3 separate regions of the Homo sapiens genome follow, and all the other regions are linked to region 3. Evidence: promoter capture Hi-C in 16 types of primary human blood cells and fetal thymus (Javierre and others, 2016). All regions are on one chromosome and are shown on one strand. Each heading gives the region's core, a stretch centred on a gene start or on the middle of the fragment in contact. The rest is flanking DNA. Distances are from core to core; before and after follow the strand shown. Region 1 has its middle 4.4 kb from the start of IQGAP1. Region 2 overlaps CRTC3-AS1 (CRTC3 antisense RNA 1). Region 3 holds the start of CRTC3 (CREB regulated transcription coactivator 3).

Region 1 (3,481 bases), core at 887-3,386, 150 kb after region 3:
AAAAAATTAGCTTAGTATGGTGACACACGCCTGTAGTCCCAGCTACTCGGGAGGCTAAGGCAGGAGAATCACTTGAACCCAGGAGGCAGAGGTTGCAGTGAGCCGAGATTGTGCTCCTGCAATCCAGCCTGGTTGACGGAGCGAGACTGTCTTTTAAAAAATAATAATAATTGCCGGGCACGGTGGCTCACGCCTGTAATCCTAGCACTTTCGGAGGCCGAGGTGGGCGAATCACGAGGTCAGGATATTGAGACCATCCAGGCTAACACGGTGAAACCCCAGCTCTATTAAAAACACAAAAAAAAAAAAAATTAGCCGGGCATGGTGGCGGGCACCTGTATTCCAGCTACTCGGGAGGCTGAGGCAGGAGAATGGCGTGAACCCTGGAGGCGGAGCTTGCAGTGAGCCAAGATCATGCCTCTGCACTCTAGCCTAGGCAATAGAGCGAGACTCCATCTCAAAAAAATAAATAAATAAAAATAAAAAATAATAATAAAGAATAAATTGTGCCTATTATATTGTCTATATTAGATTTCCTATTACATTTTCTTTTTTTTTTTCTTTTGAGATGGAGTTTCACTCTTGTCACCCAGGCTGGAGTGCAATGGTGCAATCTCAGCTCACTGCAACCTCCGCCTCCCGGGTTCAAGGGATTCTTCTGCCTCAGCCTCCCAAGTGGCTGGAATTACAGGCACCCGCCACCACACCTGGCTAATTTTATATATATATATATTTTTTTATTAGAGATGGGGTTTCACTATATTGGCCAGGCTGGTCTCAAACTCCTGACCTTGTGATCCACTGGCCTCGGCCTCCCAAAGTGCTAAGATTACAGGCATGAGCCACCGCACCTGGCCTAGATTTTCTTTTTAGTTCATTCAATCGTATAAAACTTTTTCAAAACTTTTTTTTTTTTTTGAGACGGAGTCTCACTCTGTCGCACAGGCTGGAGTGTAATGGCACAATCTTGGCTCATTGCAACCTCTGCCTCCTGGGCTCAAGCGATTCTCCTGCCTCAGCCTCCTGAGTAGCTGGGATTACAGGCACGCACCACCGCGCCCAGCTAATTTTTGTATTTTTAGTAGAGACGGGATTTCACCATGTTGCCCAGGCTGGTCTTGAACTCCTGACCTCAGGTGATCCACCCACCTCTGCCTCCCAAACTGCTTGGATTACAGGCGTGAACCACTGTGCCCGGCCTAGATTTTCTTTTTAATTCATTCAATTGTTTAAAACTTTTTCAAAACTTAGTAATTCCTATAAATAAACATACAAGCATAACAAAGCTAACATTCTCTTAGATGGCCTGATTCCATGTGTAAACTTAGTAAGCTTTCAACTCAAAAACCTAAGTCTAAAACTAACTCAATTACACATTTAAAATGATTTACAAAAAAGCTGTCATTCAAGTCGGCCAAATTTTCTTAAACATTGCGAATACATAAAATGTGAAATATTTCTTCTTCTTCTTCTTTTTTTTTTTTTTTTTTTGAGACAGAGTTTCACTCTGTCACCCAGGCTGGAGTGCAGTGGCGTGATTTCGGCTCACTGCAACCTCAGCCTCCCAAGTTCAAGTGATTATCCTGCCTCAGCCTCCTGAGTAGCTGGGCTTACAGGCGCACACGACCACACCCGGCTAATTTTTGTATTTTTACTGGAGGTGAGGTTTTGCCATGTTGGCCAGGCTGGTCTCGAACTCTTGACCTCAAGTGATCTGCCCACCTTGGCCTCCCAATGTGCTGGGGTTATAGGCATGAGCCACCATGCCCAGCCGAAATATTTCTTCTTAACTCCAACATATTAATCCAATTGTTCATTCCATAAAGGCTTTCTTTACTTAATTACAAAGTTTGTCTGAGGTGAAAGCCACAGAGATGTTAAGTTACCAACTGCACTGGTACCTTACTATACTAAGTGTTGCACATTTATTTTCTCAGCTGATCCTTGTAATAATCCCATTATGTCCATTTTACACTTGGGAAAATGGAGAACTGGGTTACTTACCTGAAGCCACACAGCAAGAGGCAGAGCTGGAACTCAAACCCAGGCCTGTCTAATGACAAAGCCCAATTCCTAGTCAATAAACTCAAGATTCAGAGAAATAGACATTAAGATAATAACATGCTGGCCAGGCACAACGGCTCACACCTATACCCCCCAGCACTTTGGGAAGCAGAGGAGAGAGGATTGCTTGAGGCCAGGAGTTCAAGACCAGCCTGGGCAAAATGAAAAACCCCGTCTCTACAGAAAATACAAAAAATTAGCCCAGCGTGGTGGCATGCTACCCAAAAGGCTGAGGTGGGAGGATCGCTTGAGCCTGGGAGTTGAGGCTGCAGTGAGCTGTGATCCCGCCACTGTGCTCCTGCCCAGGTAGACAGAGTGAGACCCATCACCAAAAAAAAAAAAAATAGAAAAGATAACATGCCACATATCACTTCTTGCCTATCATATGTAGCAACATTTTGGTTTGTCTTTTTAATTGATATTATTGGCAAGGGGGTGAAAAAGCAACCACTCTTATGCAATGTTAGTAGGCAATAAATTAATATAGTCTTTCTAAAGACCAGCTTATCATTATGCATCTATTCTTCAACCAAAAAACTTCACTTCTTGGAATGTATCATAAGGATATCGTGCTTTTATTAAATGTGCAAAAGTTATCCATGAAGATGCTCCTTGGAAATTACTCAAATGTCCATCAGTAGGTGTTTAAATCAGTGATGGCAGCTATACACAATAGAATGCCATATAGCCATGAACAGTGATGATCTGTGGTCTGGTCAGGCTTGACTGGCTACAGGAAACAGACATGCACAGTTTTACTTCTAGAGGAAAAAAGGCTGGAAGGGAGGCCTTTCTTATACAGACCTATATGGACTGGAACTGCACCAAAAACAAAACTACACTAAACAAAAAAAAACAGGACTAATGAAAGCTTGAAGTCATGGTTTCATTCTCTGGGCATCTCTGCTTTTCCACAGGCTGGCTCTACTCTCCACTCTTTGCTAACCAGCTTACTCCATTTAATTTTTTCTGTTCCCTCACAACTCTTGTTTCTGCTTGCCTTGCCATGGCTTTGACTGAAGGTCATGGTATCCTTACATCATCAGCTCCATTGAGGATCATCTCAATTGCCTAACTCCATAACCCATAGAGTGGCATATGATTGACCCAGCTCAGCTTTCCACCCTGTGGGTAAATCTCTGACCACCCACAGGCAGGCTGCCCTTAGATTGGATGCTGATCCTTTACTTCAATCAACTATGATCAGGAGATACAGATAATTAAGCATAGAGAACTATGAGCTGGGCATAATTTCCTTCAGTGGGAGGCTGGGCAGGCAAAAAATGTACAGGCTGGCAGTACAATATTTTAATATTGTGGTTAAGTTAATATATCAAATTATGACTAATAAATATGATACCATTTTGTTTTAAATGTAGCTAGATAGATAGATACATTGATGGATATGTGCATATGA
Region 2 (3,571 bases), core at 577-3,076, 140 kb before region 3:
CAAAGTGCTGGGATTAAAGGTGTGAGCCACTGCTCTTGGTCCTTGATTTTTTTTTTTTTTTTTTTTTTTTAAGACAAGGTCTTCCCTGTTGCCCAGGCTGGAGTGTGAGTGGTGTGATCATAGCCCACTGTAGCCTTGACCTTCTGGACTCAAGCCTCCCGAGTAGCTGGGACTACAGTGTGTGCCACCATGCCTGGCTAATTTTTTAATGAAATGGGGGTCTCACTTTGTTGCCCAGGCTGATCTTCAACTCCTGGGCTCAAGCGACCCACCCCCTTCAGCCTCCCAAAGTGCTAGGATTACAGGCATGAGTCACTGCACCCAGCTAAAATTTTTTTTTAAGACTTAATTTTTTTTAGACCAGGTTTATGTTCACAGCAAAAAGGAAGGTACAGAGAGTTCCGGTGTACTCCCTGCCAGCCTCCCCGATGATTAACATCCCCTCAGAGCAGTCCATTTTTTACAATCCATGAACCTACACATCATCATTGCCCAGAGTCCACAGCGTACATTAGGGTTCACTCTGCTGTTGAACATGCTGTGGGTTTGGACAAATGTACAATGACATGCATCCATACAGAGTATGGATGTATCATACAGAGTAGTTTCACTGCCCTAAATAGAAGCCTTTTTTTTGAGGTGTGTCCCCAGGTTTTGCCCTTTAGCTGAGAACTCTCACACTCACTGCCACTCCCAAGAGTGGACTGTGTCCCCATTCCAACCCCACGTGCTCACACAACCACAGGGCAGAGGGGGCAGCTGCCCCGTGGGGAAGTGCCCCAGAGACTGAGCCCATTGCTCAGTCTGCCCTGGGGATCTGGATGGGGACATCCAGAGACAGGGTCAGTTAGTGTAATCACCAAACTTGTTTGGATCATGGAAAGACCCACGTGTTTCAGCAGAGGTGAGGGAGCAGCTCTGCACAGCGGGGAGAGGGGAAAAGTAGGTGAGCTGGGGAAACAGGGAGAAGAGATTTCTGTCCTGAGGCAGGGACAGTTGGAGACAGAGTCAAACAGGATTCAAGTGATGGCAAGATGGAAAGACAGAAACAGGGACACAGTCGAAAAAAGATGCCACCGAGCAACAGAGGCGCAGACAGAAAGGAAGGCAAGCTGGGCCTGCTTTGGCTCCCCCTGGACATCCCTGCCCCCAGGCCTGGCTGCTCCTCAGCGCAGATTCCCAGGAGCTGCCTGGCCACCCTCAGATAAACCCCCCTAAAACCACGTGTTTCTTCTCCTTCCTCGTCTCCTTTTTTTTTTTCTAGACAGGGTCTCACTCTGTTGCCCAGTCTGGAGTGCAGTGGCACCATCTCGGCTCACTGCAACCTCCGCCTCCCAGGTTCAAGCAATTCTTCTGCCTCAGGTGCCACCATGCCCGGCAAATTTTTTTGTGTTTTTAGTTAAGACGGGGTTTCACCATGTTGGCCGGGCTGGTCTTGAACTCCTGACCTTAAGTGATTCGTCTACCTCAGCCTCCGAAAGTGCTGGGATAACAGGCATGAGCCATAGTGCCCAGACCCCCTTTTCTTCTTCACCTGGTGGAAGGGGCTCTTCTTTGCATCCACGAAATGCCAGGTGAGTCAGTCAGCAAACTGCTTGGGAATGATGGGAGCTAGGGCTGCTGTTTTGGGTCTGTTTTGCTCACTTATTTTTATCATTTTGAGGGGTTTCGGGGGTGAGGAGTAAGTGCTCCGCCCCCCACGCCCCACAAGGGATGGGAATTAGGCATGTCAGTCAGTATAACACAATTTTCTAAGTATGTCTCTTTGTTCAGACACCAGTATTTTTTTTTATTTTTTTTTATTTTTCTATCTCCAGTTATTAAGTCACTGCTGCTGTAGGAGTGCCACTTAAGTGCCTGGGTTTTTATTTTTGTCCCCAAGGTACAAAAAGTACTACCAGCCGCGCACAGTGGCTCACGCCTGTAATCTCATCACTTTGGGAGGCCAAGGCGGGAGGATCGCTTGAGCTCAGGAGCTCAAGACCAGCCTGAGCAACGTAGTGAGACCCCATCTTTACAAAAAGTTTAAAAATTAGCCGGGCGTGGTGGCGTGCGCCCGTAGTCCCACCTACTCGGAAGGATGGCTTCAGCCCGGAAGTTCGAGGCTGTGGTGAGCCGAGATCGCTCCACTGCACTCCAGCCTGGGCGACAAAGCGAGACCCTGTCTCAGAATAAGAATAAAAATAAAAGTACTGCCTACTTTCTGAACGCGCTCAGGCGGTGCCGCCTCAGGCGCTGTGGTGGGGCCGCGCACAGGCTGCCTGGGTGATCTCAGGAGGGCGAAGCCCCACGACGCAGGTTTGGGGCGGTCCTGTCCAACCCCCTGCGCATCCCGGGTGTCCAGAAACGCAGGCTGAACGCTGGAGCCCGGGGCGTCCTCGGTGCCGGAAGCGGCCGTGCGGCCGGAGCTCCGGGGAGGGACAGCCGGGCAGAGGAGCCGGGCTTTGGGGTCTCAGCCGTTTGCAGGGGTCCCCGGGCCCCCGTCCTTCCACGCGGAGGGCGTGAAGCGGCGGGGACGCGGCTGGGGAGCCCCCCCCGCGGCGGTGAGGACGCGGCGCCGCTCCCTTCCGGTGCTGCTCACCTGGAAGCCGGAGGCCGCTGGGGGTTTGGGGCGGCTGCACGCTCCGGGGTGGGGGGATGCGGGAGCCCGGTCAGGCCCAGCCGCCTTTCCCGGTGGTGAGGAGCGCTGTGCCGGGCTCCGGGGGTCTTACGCTTTCAGCTGCCGGGCCTGCCCCCGGCCACAACAAGGCCCTGACCCAGCTCTGTCGGGGGACGCTACCCGGCCCTGTCCCACTCCGGCCCAACGCTGTGATCCTAGGGTTCTCAGGCAACGGCCAGGCCGAGGGGCCTGCCATGTCCAGCTCGGGGCTGGGCTGTCACCGCCAAGTTAGATCCGGGCCAGCGCTGTGCTCGCGTTGCTTCACTCATTTGCTCACCCATGCATTGACTGACCGACTCCCCCACCAGGACCTAAGGGTCCGCTGCACCGGGCCAGGGGGCCCATCACCGTCAGCGGATTGATGAATTGCGCTCCCTTTTCAGGGCTCCGTTAGTTTTTGTTTTGTTTTATTTTTAAGACAATCTTGCTCTGTGGCCCAGGCTGGAGTGCAGTGGCGTGATCTTGGTTCGCTGAAGCCTCGACCTCCCAGGCTCAAGCGATCTCCCCGCCTAGGCCTCCAGGGTAGCTGGGACCACAGGCACGTGCCACCACACCTGGCTATTTTTCTGTTTGTTTTGTTTTGTATTGTTTTGTTTTGTTTTGTAGAGACAGGGTTTTGCCATGTTGCCCAGAATGGTCTCTAACTCCTGAGCTCAAGGGATCCTCCTGTCTGGGCCTCCCAAAGTGCTGGGATTACAGGCGTGAGCCACCACACCTGGCCTTTTTTTTTTTTTTTCTCTCAAAATCGCATCACACGCAGCACAGGGGTCCCTTAGTCTCTGCATTTCACCGAAGGTCGGAGATTTTCCTTGATTGTCTTTTCCCGTGGCCAACATCAGGGCTGGTGGCTTTAAGAGTCCTGGGGGACACTTTTCTCTTAAGGATCTGGTAGCTTTCACTCCATTGTCTCAG
Region 3 (3,442 bases), core at 379-2,878:
ATATATTTTTTCTCAATGTGAACAGAAATGTAAGTACAGGAAATATTTCACTTTTTCCTTAACTTCACTGAAAGAAAACACCATCATGAGTATAAATGGCAACTGTCACCTAATCTCCCCTTGGGGGACTGTGACAGAGAGTGGACGGTGGCAAACTAGAGTTCTTACTCCATTTGAAAGGGAGCTCAGCTCAGCTCCCTTTCATCATCACCCAGCTCCAGCAGGTCGGTAGCTGTCATGTAGGAATTCAGAATTAGTGTTACCAGGTCTCCCAATTTTTAACATATATAAATAATAATAAATAAATAATACGGAAATTTGGATTTTGTGTGGAAGTCTTCCAATTTAAAAATTCTGGCAACAGATTCAATAATTTTTCCCAAACACTGCGCTGGCCAAAAAATAATGTGTCTGCAACTCAGCTGGTTTGCAACTCTGCTCTCAGCTCTCCTTCAAACTGTCTCCCCCGCCTCAGTCCCCCAGAATCTGCAGATCCTCCCCCATCCTCCCGATGGTCCTCCAAGGTCAGCATTCAGGATCCTCAAGGCCAGCCCCACTCCTGCTGACCCCCCTTCTCTGCAACCCTGCGCGGACACTCCGGTTGGCTCTCCATCCTCCACTGCCTCACTCAGCGGTTACCTAACCTCTCCAGGTGTTTGTCCCGGCTCGCGCCTTACTCATTCCTCCAGGTCCCTCTCCAGTCACCAGCGACGCTTGTCAGTTCTCACTAAATATCCCGGGCCGAACAAAGTAAACTGGACCCGATAAAGCACCTCCAAGGAGTAAAAGGAGCAGAGCCTCACACTCGACACGGAATCCCGTCGTGGTTCCAACAACCCGAGCCACCCCAGGGCCGGGCCCTGGATGGACTTGTGCACAGAGCTCCCCCCACGAGCGCGTGGGACCCTGGGGTGCCCGCGGCCTTCCACGCCGGCAGAACAGCAGGGCTCGATGGTGGGGGATGTTCGGAGCGACCAGAAGCCGCGCCGCGCCACCCGGCCGGCCTCCGAGCTGTTTGCGATTTCCTCTCGGGGCTCCTCGTCCTCCTCCCCCTCAGGCCGCCCTCGCACGGCCGCCCGCCTCCACGGGCTTCACCCCTGCCCATCTTCCCGCACACGGGGCCGGGCGACCCTCCCACCTCAGCCCGGGATCGCGAACGGCTAGCGGGTGTCGCCAGGCGGGGAAACGCCGAGGCCGCGGCCGCTCCGGTCCCCCTCCCAGCCGCCGGTTCCCGGGCGCGGCCCCCGCCCGGCCCCGCCATCGCCTTGGCCCCGCAACCTCTCACCCGCCGCGCGGGTCCCGCCCGCGGCCGTGGCCGCCCCCGCCCGCGCCGGCCCGGGCCCTCACCCGCGACAGGGTGAGGTCGGTCATGAGCTGCTCGAAGGCCCGCGTCTCCTCGGCCTGTCTCTGCGTGTGCAGCGCGATCTTCTCACTGAACTTCCGCGGGTTGGCGCTGCCCGAGCCCGGCGAGGCGGCCATGGCGCGGACTCTGCGCGGGCAGAAGCGGGAGACGGCGGCCGTGGGGCCTGTACCTCGGCCCACCCGTCCGTCCACAGGCCGCCGGGGCCGCCGCCCGAAGCCAGTCGTCCGGCGCGACCCGGCAGAGGAGCCGCCGCGGCCCCGGAGCCAGCGAGCGGCCGGGAGCGCGCCGAGGTCCGCCCCCGTGCGCCCGGCCCCGCCCCACCCTCGGCGGGGCCCGCCCGGCCTCCAGTCTGCCCCGGCCCCACGCTCGCGGGCTGAGGGCTGCTCCCCGCTTCCCGGTCTGGCTCGGGACCCGCCGCCGGCGGCCACCTGGAGGGACCCCCGTCAGCCCGACAAAGTGGCCCCGGCGTACGGGGAACGCTGGGGTGCCACTCCACGGAGACTCTCCGACCCAGGGATGGCCTCTGCGTCTACGCGACGTGGAGAACACAGCCTGTGCCCGCATCCCCCCTCCCCCAGCCAAATTACGAAGATTTTCTTCTCCAGGTGGAACCTGGGCGACCGGACCTCGAGCAGGTCACCTCGGGCCCCCGCAGGGGGTGCGCCCATTTTGCCTGGGGCCTAACGTCTGCCCGCCAGCCCTGCCGCTCCAGGCCCCCGGCCTCCAGCCGCTGGTTTCCTGACCTCTCACACCCACCCCTCCCCGCTCCAGTCAACCAGAGCTGTATCTCGGCTTTAAAAACTGCCTCCTATTCTGCACAAACTACAAACACCATCCAGCCCTGCTGCAGCCTTGGCTCCATAGCCCCGGCCCCCTTTCCAGGTTCTTTCCAAGTCTCCCTACGGCCTCTCCACTCCTGTGGCAGCTTCAGCAGGTGCCAGCCCCACCTTGGGAAACCAGCGCTCAGCCTCAGCGAATTTCCCCTTCTTTTGGGGGAGTGAATGGATGTCTTTCTCTGTCGCCCGGTCTGGAGTGTAGTGGTGCGATCTCGACTCACCGCGGCCTTGACCTCCCGGGCTCAAAAGATCCTCCCACCTCAGCCTCCCGACCAGCTGGGACCACAGGCGGGGGTCACCACGCCCGGCTAGTTTGTAAATGTTTTTGTAGCAATGGGGGGCGGGGGTGGGTCTCGCTATTTTGCCCAGGCTGGTCTCGAACGCCTGGGCTCAAGCGATCTGCCCACCTCAGCCTCCCAAAGTGCTGGGATAACAGGCGTGGGCCACAGTGCCCGGGGAGTTTCCTCTTTGGAGTCCAGAAGCTACTCTCAGCATAAATGTTGATGTGCACAAAGATGTCCCGGGGAGCCCTGAGCGTGTGTCAGTGTTCTGTAAAGAGGGAAATATTAGAGGCCTACGGAAGAGTACGGAAAATAATATTAATACTACCCACGCCCCCCACTATCAAGATTAAACAGACATCAATACATTTTGCTGCATGTACTTGGGATTTATTAAAGACATACAAAATTAGTCATAACGACGGCCCCACTCTCATTTCTTCTTCCGCCCCACAGATAGTCACCGTGCTCAAGTTGGTACATATCATTCCAGTTTGTGTTTTTATACTTTTATTACATATGATGTAGAGATCCAGCAATGCTATATGGAATACCTAATTTTGTTTTTAAACTTTACAAAAATGACACCATACTGAATAATCATTTTGCATCTTTTTTCATTCTCCATTATGTTTTCGAGATATATTTGTGTCAATTCATTTATATGATAATATTCCATTATGTTTTTCACCTGTCTCTCAGACATAGCCTATAACTGGACTTTTTAGAAAATGTATTCTGAAAATATATCTCTGTTAGCTAGAATTTAGCTATTTTTATTAATTATAATTGGATTTTTTTTTCTGTTGTATTTTGTGTTATTTACCATGCTTTTTTTTTGTTGTTGGTTTGTTTTTGAGACGGAGTCTTGCTCTGTTACCCAGGCTGGAGTGCAGTGGCCTGATCTCAGCTCACTGCAAACTCTGCCTCTTGAGTTCAAGTGATTCTTGTGCCTCAGCCTC

What was found. The method cuts DNA at HindIII sites, captures the fragments that hold promoters and counts their contacts. A CHiCAGO score of 5 or more calls a contact.
Region 1: a fragment that was not itself captured here is called in contact with the fragment with the promoter of CRTC3 in region 3 in 3 of 17 cell types (total B cells, activated CD4 T cells and naive CD4 T cells); the score reaches 6.2 in total B cells.
Region 2: a fragment that was not itself captured here is called in contact with the fragment with the promoter of CRTC3 in region 3 in 2 of 17 cell types (activated CD4 T cells and naive CD4 T cells); the score reaches 6.7 in activated CD4 T cells.

The regions. Positions count from the first base shown.
Region 1 is chr15:90,382,111-90,385,591 of GRCh38, reverse strand. No RefSeq gene overlaps it. Among named protein-coding and RNA genes, the nearest start is that of IQGAP1, 4.4 kb to the left of the region's middle. The HindIII fragment of the contact is 1,603 bases long and covers 1,335-2,937 here.
Region 2 is chr15:90,664,433-90,668,003 of GRCh38, reverse strand. The region is part of intron 2 of CRTC3-AS1 (CRTC3 antisense RNA 1); the gene reads left to right. LINC01585 (long intergenic non-protein coding RNA 1585) reads right to left here. Exons shown (of 3, transcript NR_120371.1): 3 at 3,050-3,571. Among named protein-coding and RNA genes, the nearest start is that of LINC01585, 6.0 kb to the right of the region's middle. RefSeq lists a silencer at 2,337-2,716 and enhancers at 2,897-3,156, 3,197-3,246. The HindIII fragment of the contact is 7,376 bases long and covers 1-3,571 here.
Region 3 is chr15:90,528,109-90,531,550 of GRCh38, reverse strand. CRTC3 (CREB regulated transcription coactivator 3) reads right to left here and starts at 1,628. Exons shown (of 15, transcript NM_022769.5): 1 at 1,348-1,628. The coding sequence starts at 1,479. RefSeq lists an enhancer at 525-684 and silencers at 1,075-1,254, 1,275-2,024, 2,125-2,174. The HindIII fragment of the contact is 15,096 bases long and covers 1-3,442 here.